Regions from separate parts of the Homo sapiens genome. Here region 1 is linked to region 2. The links are contacts of gene promoters, found by promoter capture Hi-C in blood cells and fetal thymus (Javierre and others, 2016). All regions are on one chromosome and are shown on one strand. The core of a region is centred on a gene start or on the middle of the fragment in contact, and the rest is flanking DNA. Distances in the headings are between cores, read along the strand shown. Region 1 overlaps BRINP1 (BMP/retinoic acid inducible neural specific 1). Region 2 holds the start of TLR4 (toll like receptor 4).

What was found. Contacts are between HindIII fragments. The CHiCAGO score rates a contact against its expected background, and 5 or more counts as called.
Region 1: a fragment that was not itself captured here is called in contact with the fragment with the promoter of TLR4 in region 2 in 2 of 17 cell types (M1 macrophages and M0 macrophages); the score reaches 7.4 in M1 macrophages.

Annotation. Positions count from the first base shown.
Region 1 is chr9:119,293,553-119,298,317 of GRCh38, reverse strand. The region is part of intron 2 of BRINP1 (BMP/retinoic acid inducible neural specific 1); the gene reads left to right. Among named protein-coding and RNA genes, the nearest start is that of BRINP1, 74 kb to the left of the region's middle. RefSeq lists an enhancer at 1-466. The HindIII fragment of the contact is 3,745 bases long and covers 752-4,496 here.
Region 2 is chr9:117,700,973-117,705,992 of GRCh38, reverse strand. TLR4 (toll like receptor 4) reads right to left here and starts at 1,590. Exons shown (of 3, transcript NM_138554.5): 1 at 1,428-1,590. The coding sequence starts at 1,520. RefSeq lists enhancers at 1-904, 1,020-1,520, 1,491-1,560, 1,571-1,620, 1,521-2,021 and 1 more. The HindIII fragment of the contact is 5,259 bases long and covers 1-2,449 here.

The DNA.
Region 1 (4,765 bases), core at 1,375-3,874, 1.6 Mb before region 2:
TACTCAAAAGAGGAACTGAAAGTAAATGTGCTTGGTAAACCATGCACTGTCATGTAAATATGGGCCCTATTGTTCCTGTTTACAGGCATGAGGGACGGACTTTGGATTCCTTTCCCTGCTCTGATGGAAGATAGTGCTTTGGTACCTAATAATTGCATTCAAATGGTCTGATTTCAGACTATCACTTTAGGATAACAAAATGAGCAGCAGTTGTAATATTGGAGACGGACTGTTAGATGTCCTATCTTTTAGATGTCCAGAATAAATGTGCGAGAATAGTTGACCCAGACAAATTGACTGATGAAAGGATAACTTGTGCTTCAATATAATGAGTTCAATATTCTTTTGATTTACGAAAAGGCACTGGGGCACCCAGGCCCGGATGCTTGTCAGCAAGAGAAAAATGGAGGTTGCATTGCAGTTCCTGCAGACAGAACAAAGTTCTTTCTCTGTTTCAGCTCAACCTGCATTTGTTATTATTTTATTATTATTATTAATTATTAGAAAGGGAAAGGAAAATAATACTAAAGACCAGGGGTTTCAGGAGGCAGAATTGTCTTACCGTATAATTAGCCCAGCCCTGATGCTGCCAGTTGAACCTAAATGAGCAGGATAATGGGAGAAAGTCCAAAATAGAATCCTGTTAGGGTTCATTTCAGAACCAAGAAGGAAGTTGAAAAATAAAACAAAAAGAATGGAACGAATAAACTTGTGTGATATGATACAGAATATGGTATTATTAGCTAAAGCTTATATAGCTCTATTAAGTCATTTATACTTGAGTGCAACCCTTGTGACAGCTGTAGCCTTTAACCCATTTTACAGATGAGGAAATTGAGGCTCAGAAAAGTAATATGGCCAGGGTCACACAGCTGGGAAGTCACACAACTCTGATTTGAACCCAGGCAATCTGGTTCCACAGTCTGTGCTCGTTACCACTGGCTATACAGGGCGCTGAGAAGGTGAAGGGAGCGCAGCCTTGGGAACCAAGGAGCCCGTGTCCTCCTCTGTCCTCAACACTGTATCATCCACCTTGTGACCTGAGCATATTATAACCCTGAGCCTCAATTCCCTCTATAATATTCATGTTTTGGACAAAATAATTGCTAAAATACTATCCATTTCTTTTCTTTTTAAGTTTTATTGAAGTATAATTGATGAATAGGAATTGTATACACTTAAGGTATGCAACTAGATGTTTTGACATATGTATACATTGTGAAATTACCCCCACAATCAAGCTAATTAAGGTGTCCATCACCCACACAGTAACTATTTTCCGTCTCTTTTTTTGTGATGAGAACACTTAAGATTATTCTCTTAGCAAATTTCAAGAATATAATATAGCATTTTTAACTATAGTCACCATGCTGTATATTAGCTCTCCAGAACTTACTTATTTGGCATAACAGAAACTTCGTTCGTACCCTTTGACCAAACTCTCCCCATTTCTCCCTTCCCCCTATTTCTGGCAACCATCATTCTACTCTCTGCTTCTGTAAGTTTGATCCTTTTAGATTCCACATACAAGTGAAATCATGCAGTATTTGTCTTTCTGTGCCTGGCATATTTCATTTAGCATAATGTCCTCCAGGCCCATACATGTTACAAATGGCAGGATTTCTTTCTTTTTAAAGGTTGAATAATGTTTCACTTTGTGTGTGGGTGAGTGTGTGTGTCCATTCATCTGTTGATGGACATTTATGTGGATTCCATATTTTGGTTATTGTGAGAAACTCTGCAATGGACATGAGAATGCAGATAGCTCTTCAACATACTAATCTCATTTCCTTTGGATAAATACCTATAAGTGGGATTGCTGGATCATATATTAGTTCTAGTTGTAATTTTTTGAAGAACTTCCATACTGTTTGTTTTCCAAAATGGCTGTATAAATTTGCATTCCCATCCACATTCTTGCTAACACGTTATTTTTCAAAATTTTATAATACCTATTCTAACACGTGCAAGGTAATAGCTCATTGTGGTTTTGATTTACATTTTCCTGATGATTAGTGATATTGAGTATGTTTTTGTGTACCTGTTGGCCATTTGTATGTCTTCTTGAGAAAAATGCCTATTCAGGTCCTTAGCCCATTTTTACATCGAGTTATTTCTTTCTTTTGCTGTTCATTTATTTGAATGCTTTATATATTTTGAAAATTAACCACTCATTAGATATATGGTTTGCAGATATTTTCTCCCATTCCATAGGTTGCTTTTTCTCTCTGTTGATTGTTTCTTTTGATATACAGATACTGCTTAGTTAGATGGAATCCCACTTGTCTATTTTTGCTTTGGTTTCCTGTGCTTTTAGGGTCATATCCAAAGGAATCATTGCCCAGACCAATGTTAAGAAGGTTTATCTCTGTTTTCTTCTAGTGTTTTTATGGTTCCTGGTTTTACCTTTAAGTTCTTAATTCATTTTGAGTTGATTATTGTATATGGTCTGAGATAAAGGTGCAATTTCCTCCTTTTGCATGTGGGTGTCTTGTTTTTCTAACAACATTTATTGAAGAGAGAACCTTTTCCTCATTGTGTGTGGTTGGAACCCTTGTTGAAGACGAATTGACAATACATGCCCAGGTTTATTTCTGGTCTCTCTATTCTGTTCAATTTTGTCTGTATGTTCATTTTTATGCCAGTACCATACTGTTTTGAATACTGTAGCTTTGTAATGCAGTGACACACTGCATGATGATGTTTCAGTCAACAACACACTGTGTATATGACAGTGTTCCTATATGATTATAATACCATATTTTTACTGTGCCTTTTCTATGTTCAGATATATTTGATACATGAATATTTACCATTGTATTACAATTGCTTACAGTAGTCAGTAAAGTAACATCTTGTACAGATTTGTAGCCTAAGAGCAATAGGCTATGCTATAGAGCCTAGGTGTGTAGTAGGATATATCATCTAGGTTGGTGCAAGTATACTCTGTGATGTTTGTACAATGACAAAATCATCTACTGATGTATTTCTCAGAATGTATTCCTGTCCACTTTCAGAGTCTGAGGTGGATGGATTGCTTGAGGCCAGCAGTTTGAGACCAGCCTAGGCAACATAAATGAAACCCCGCCTCTACCAAAAATGCAAAAATTAGCCAGTCTCATAACCCAGTCTCAAAAAATAAATAATTAAAAAAAAATTAAAAATAATAAAAAATAATGCATTCCTATCATTAAGTGATACATGCCAGTATATTTTAAAATCGAGAAGTGGGATGCATTCGTCTTTGTTCCTGTATAAGATTTCTTTGGCTATTTGGGGTCTTTTGTAGTTCCACACATATTTTAAGTTTTTTTTTTCTATTTCTATAAAGAATGCAAAATTTGATAGAGATTGCATTGGATATGTAGATCAGCTGGGTATTATGGACATTTTAACATTATTAATCCAATTCATGAACACGTGCTACCTTTCCATTTATGTGTGTCTTTTTTTTTTTTTTTTTTAACGTAGTGTCACTCTGTTGCTCAGGCTAGAGTGCAGTGGTGTGATCTCGGCTCACTGCAACCTCCACCTCCTGGGTTCAAGTGATTCTCCTACCTCAGACTCCTAAGTAGCTGAGAATACAGACACATCTGGCTAATTTTTGTATTTTTAGTAGAGATGGGGTTTTACTATGTTGGCCAGGCTAGTCTCAAACTCCTGACCCCAGGTGATCTGCCCATCTCAGCCTTCCAAAGTGCTGGGATTACAGGTGTAAGCCACCGCACCCAGCCTTTCTGTGTCTTTTTAAATTTCCTTCATCAATGTGTTTTGTCGTTGTTGTTGTTTTGGAAATGAAGTTTCATCTCTGTTGCCAAGGCTGGAGTGCAGTGGTATGATCTCGGCTCACTGCAACCCCCAACTCCAGCTTCAAGCGATTCTCCTGCCTCAGCCTCCTGGGTAGCTGGGATTATAGGCATATGCCAACACGCCCAGCTAGTTTTTGTACCTTTAGTAGAGGGTTTCACTATATTGGCCAGGCTGGTCTCAAACCCCTGACCTCAGATGATTCATCCGCCTCGGCCTCCCAAAGTGCTGGGATTACAGGCATGAGCCACCGTGCCCAGCCTCATCAACGTTTTATAATTTTCAGAATATATGTCTTTTACTTCTTAACTGTATCCCTAAGTGTTTTATACTTTTTCTTACTATTGTAAATGGGGTTGTTTTTATAATTTTTAAGATATTTCATTGTTAGCATTATTTTTGGATAGTTCACAGATTTCTGTATGTTTATTTTGTATCTTCAACTTCATTAAATTTATTTATAAGTTGTACCATTTTTGTTGTTACTGAGTCTTTAGGATTTTCTATATGATCATCATATCATCTGCAAACAGAGATAATTTTACTTCTTTTTTTATTTGAATTACTTTTATTACTTTTATGTATTTAATTTTTCTTGTCTAATTACTCAGCTAAGACTTCCAATACTATGCTGAATAGAAGTGGTGAGTGGGCATCCTAGCCTTGTACTGAATCTTAGAGGAAAAGCTTTTAGTTTCCATTTACAATACTCCATAGCTCTTATTTTTCCATCTTCTTCGTTTTCTTTTTTTTCTTTTCTCTTCTCACTCTTCTACCTCCTATTCAAATATACTATCTATATGCAATGCTTTAAAATTCACAAAACAATGTCTCATATGAGGTAGTAATAATATCTCATTTTACAGATGACGTAGCAAAGGCTTTGAGTGAATAAATTATTTATCCAGTGTGATATACCTGGTAAGTGATGAAGCATTGGCATCTATCTAAGTCTTCT
Region 2 (5,020 bases), core at 341-2,840:
TCGAAATTAAATTCACTTGTTTCTTTTTTTAATGAGGCTACTAAAAACTTTAAAAGTACATATGTGGCTCACATAATATTGCCAATGGATAGCACTGATCTAGCATTCTAGGTAGAAGAAATAGCCAGTGCAAAGGCCCTGTGGTAGAAAGCTGTTCTAATGGCAATGGAGAGTTATTAAAAGTTTTTAAGGAGAGTAATTTGTTAGATTGAAGCCTAAGGAAAAATAATAACAACAAATGCAAGTACATAACAAACAAGAACGTGCAGAATGAATTAAAGGAAGAAGACTGGAATCAGGAAAGCAGTTAGTGTGTAAGAGTCAATGCCAGGGGAAATGAGGGCCTGCCTTACAGTGGAACTAAGGGGATGGGCAGGGATGGACAGGCTTCAGGGACTGACAGGAAAAGGTACATGGGGAAAAGAAGTCAAGTTTGGCTGTGGTTTTATCTCGCAGTGAGCCTAATTAGAAAATCTATCTCCATTAACCTAACAGCAGAGGGATACAGAGAAGAGGACAAGGAGGAGGACTATGGGCAGGGAATTGAGGGAAGGGATGGCTTCAAGATAATGAATTAGTCTTTGCTAAATATTACTTGATTTTCTCCTATATCCTCAACTTCAGGACTGCAGCTGGCTTTTTCTCTCTTGAGTTTCTGACCCTGCCTCACTGTAAATCATTTTCTTAGCTGTTCGGCTCTACTATGGGTTTCTAAAGCAACTGTGAAGTCTGCGCAGGGGAAAAACAAAAGAGATCCATCATGAATAAGATTACCAACCAGCTGATTGGTATTTCACTAAGAAAGAAACTGTTGCATTAGCTGACATTATACATATTTCCCTCTTGCTTTTTTCTTCTCTCTCTCTCTCTTTTCCTTTTTCATTCTCTTATTTTTTTCATCCTCTGGACTAAACTATATTACTGCATACAGAAGTCTGACACCCACTTAGAAAGTTCTTTCTCTAGAGACACACACACAAAAGCCATCTTTTTCCTGAGATTGAAAGGAGCAGGGTGACTGCTTGAAGCTGAGTGTAAAGACCACCAGTGGGAAGAAATGACACTGAAGCAGTCTGCTTACTCTCTAGTGAAGAAGGTATTATAATTCTCTTACAGATGCGAAAACTAGTCTCAGACAGGTTTGATAATTTCTTCACAGAGCCACAAGGTAGCAGAGCAGGGACCTTAAGCAGATCTATGTTATCTCATGCCCCTGTTAGCACTCAAAATTTCCAAATGGAACAAACCCCCAATGGCTGCCTCTAGTGCCCTGTAACAATGAATTATTTGATCTCTGTGGCTTCTTGAGTCTTTAAGGTAATTTAACTCTTTTTTTTTTTTGCAAAAATAAACAAACCAGGGCACACAGTGAGAAGTTCTGGGCAGAAGTGAGGGAAAGTTCAGAGGAGCTGACTCCAGCCACATACCTCCACGCAGGGCTCCCAGCTTTCTGGTCTCACGCAGGAGAGGAAGGCCATGGCTGGGATCAGAGTCCCAGCCAGGCGCGAGGCAGACATCATCCTGGCATCATCCTCACTGCTTCTGTGAGCAGCAGTGGCCCTGTGAATGCGTGGCTCGCTATCACCGTCTGACCGAGCAGTTTCTGAGGCACTGGTGTCTTCTCTTCCTCGAGCCGCCCCACAGCAATTGGTGTATTCAAAGCAGTTCTGGGCTAAAGGGTGAGAGGAAGTGAAAGCGGCAACCTTAGCATTCTGGACTTTTGTTTCTCTAATAGTTATCTCTTTTGTCACAGGAGAGGAAGTTAGAAGAAGAAAACGCCTGCAGACCAGTGGCTAAAGAAACAGCAAGAGGAAGCTAGTTGGCTTTTATCCCAATTAGTCATCTGACCTCTGCCTGGGCTTGGTGAATTTAGGAAAACAATCAGGTTCTATTAAAATAGCCCTTGTAACTCTCTAGGATGACGGTGATTTTCCAATTTTGTTTCAGCTGTGGAAACACTATTTGTATTAGTTTGCTGGGGCTGCCATAAGGAAATACCACAGACTGGGTGGCTTAAACAACAGACATTCATTTTCTCACAATTCTAGAGGCTTCCAGTCTGAACTCAAGGTGTCAGCAAGTGTGTCTGAATTCTAATCTCCCCTTCTTATAAGGACACCAGTTATGTTGGATTAGGGCCCACCATAATGACCTCATTCTACCTTACATACCTCTTTCAAGGCTCTCTCTCCATATACAGTCATAGTCTGAGGTAGAGGGGTTAGGACTTCGATATGTAGGTTTTTGCAGGACACAATTTGGCCCGCCCCTTCTTGTGAAGAAACTCACATACAAAACTGAAAATAAACCTCAACTGAAACACAGTTTGAAAAGTACAAGAAGATTGGGAAAAGTCTGGGATTTCAGAATGGAATATACTGAAGTTCAGATCTCAGCTGGGTGACTCATGGCTTTGAGGCATTGGTCAAGTCATGTAAACCGCTAAGCTTTACTTTCTTTCTTTTCTTTTTTCATTTTCTGTATTATGGTAAAATCACATAACATAACATGACATAACATAAAATTTATTATCTTGACCATTTGTATGTGTACAATTTAGTGGCATTAATTATGTTCATATTTTTGTACAATCATCACCACTATTCATTAATAAATAACTCCCCATTTCCCCTTTCCCTAGGCCCTTGAATCTATGCACTACTTTTGTCTCTATAATCTTGACTACTCTAGGCAGCTCTTAGAAGTGGAATCATACAGTATGTATCTTTTTGTCACTGGCTTATTTCACTTTGCATAATGTCCTCAAGGTTCTTTTCTGTGTAGTATAGATCAAAGCCTCCTTCCTTTTTAAAGCTGAACAATATTCCATTGTATGTATAGACCACATTTTGCTTATCCATTTGTCTGTTCATGGACACTTGCATTGTTGCCACACGTTAGCTATTGTGAATAATGCTGCCATAAACATGGTTGTACAAATATCTCTTAAAGTCTCTGTTTTCAATTCTTTTGGATACGTACTCAGAAGTGAGATTGCTGGATCATGTGGTAAATCTATTTTTAATTTTTTGAGCACCCACCATATGATTCTCCACAGCATCTGTACCATTTTACATTCCCACAAATGGTGTACAGGAGTTCTCATTTTTTCACATCTTCACCAACACTTATTATTACTTTCTGGTCTGTAAAATGTGGTAATCACTTTTAATCATAGCAGAAGCTTGCATTTATAAAATGTATTAAAATAAAGATACGCAATGGTAGTCAAATTATACAAACCTACCAACCTTTAGTTTTCTGGTCTTTAAAACGAAGATAATCGCATGTGTTTTGAATTACTGAATTAAGCTAACTTACGTAAAACGTCTAGTCTAGAGCATCATCATTACATTCCATAAATGAGAGCTATGATGAGGATTGAAAATGTGGATAGAATGAAGATGATAATATGTATCTCAAAGTATTGTATTGGGATTAAATGAACTGGCATTTGTAAAGCTTTTAGGACAGTGTCTGGAAAGTAGCAAGTGCAATGTAAGTTTCTGTTAAATAAGAACCTGATTTAAAACAGGAATATTATGCATGCTAAGTCCTAGATAGTTCTACTGTAATATCCTCCAAGCACTTCCAATCCAACGTGTCAAAAACCAAGCTGTGAGGGACCATTTTGTGGTGGACTGGGCACAAACTCTTGTAGACTCCATCAACACACCAGTAGAGTTAAGATAAAAACAACCTCCATGTCAAAGCTTTGCTCTGAGTATTGAGATTATTCATGTAAAGATTTTAGAGCAGTGCCTGACACAGAGTAGGTGCTCAATAAAGTTTAGTTCCCTGGAAAGTTAATGGTGTTTCACTTTGACATAGTCATCCAAGGTGGAAATCTCTTTGACTTTATTTCCCTTACTTCCTCATTTCTCATGCTAAACATGTATTAACCCAATTGTCTTCTTTTCTGTGTTCTTGATGTTCTGGCATCTGGGAAGAGACTGCACTTACCAGGGCTAGTTAGTTCTAAAAAATAGCAAAAGATTTGCTCTGGAGCATGCCTTATGCACACTAAGCAATCCAGAGCCCTTCCTCTGAACCACCTCCTCTACCTGGCTTTTACACCCAAGTAGACACCGTTATTCAGCCCTAATCATCACAGGTCCAGGTACCAGACAACTAGAGACAGACCCTCTACCCCAGAGCCCACTGAGGTTATTCAAACTAGCCAGTCCTATCCCTGCTTACCCTGCCTTGCCTTGCCTTTTCTGCAGTAACAACAATAAAAGCTTGTGCCTATAATTTCCTCTTGCTCCCTCTGCCTCCTGACGGACTCTGGTGCTACCAATGTGGCCCTGCATGGTGTGGCATGCCCCCGCTTCTTAGGAACTGTAAACAACAAACTATATTTCCAGTGGCATCATCTTCTGATCTGTTGTTTTCACCATAGCCGAATAATAAAACCTACATTTTAAAAAATGTTCCACCAAGTTGTAGAAATTGTATCTGTAAAATAATTCCAAAATGTCAGTCGCCATTTCTACTACCATTACTATTGAACATATCCCACGGCCTAGACTAGTTCAATATACTTTAAGAAGCCTCCCAAAGTCTAGATTCACCTCTTTCAATGTACCAGCTCTTCCAATTGATTCTTCATCCTGCTGTTGAAAACATCTTTCTAAAATAGAAATACGTTTAACTCATGTCATGCTAATAATGATTTCAGGCTGGGTATTGCCTAGATAAAAAATCTCCTGGCCTACCCCCATCACATATACACATACAGAAACACTCCACTTCCTAAGAATGAGAAACAAATATGTGGGTCATTTCAAGCCAGACATAACTAGACCCCATTACTGGGACACAGTGCTTAAGTGAATAGAGTAATACAAGTGTGTAATAGACAAATGCACTTTCTTCCCATCATTTGGAGAGGAAACCGCTTGATAGTCTAGATGAGGAACTAAGGAAAAGGGCCCAGGGAAGTCCTTTCAACTATGTTTTCGGAGATGTTAATACATGTGTTTTATAGAAGTCTTCCTGGAAATTTTTCCTATGTGTG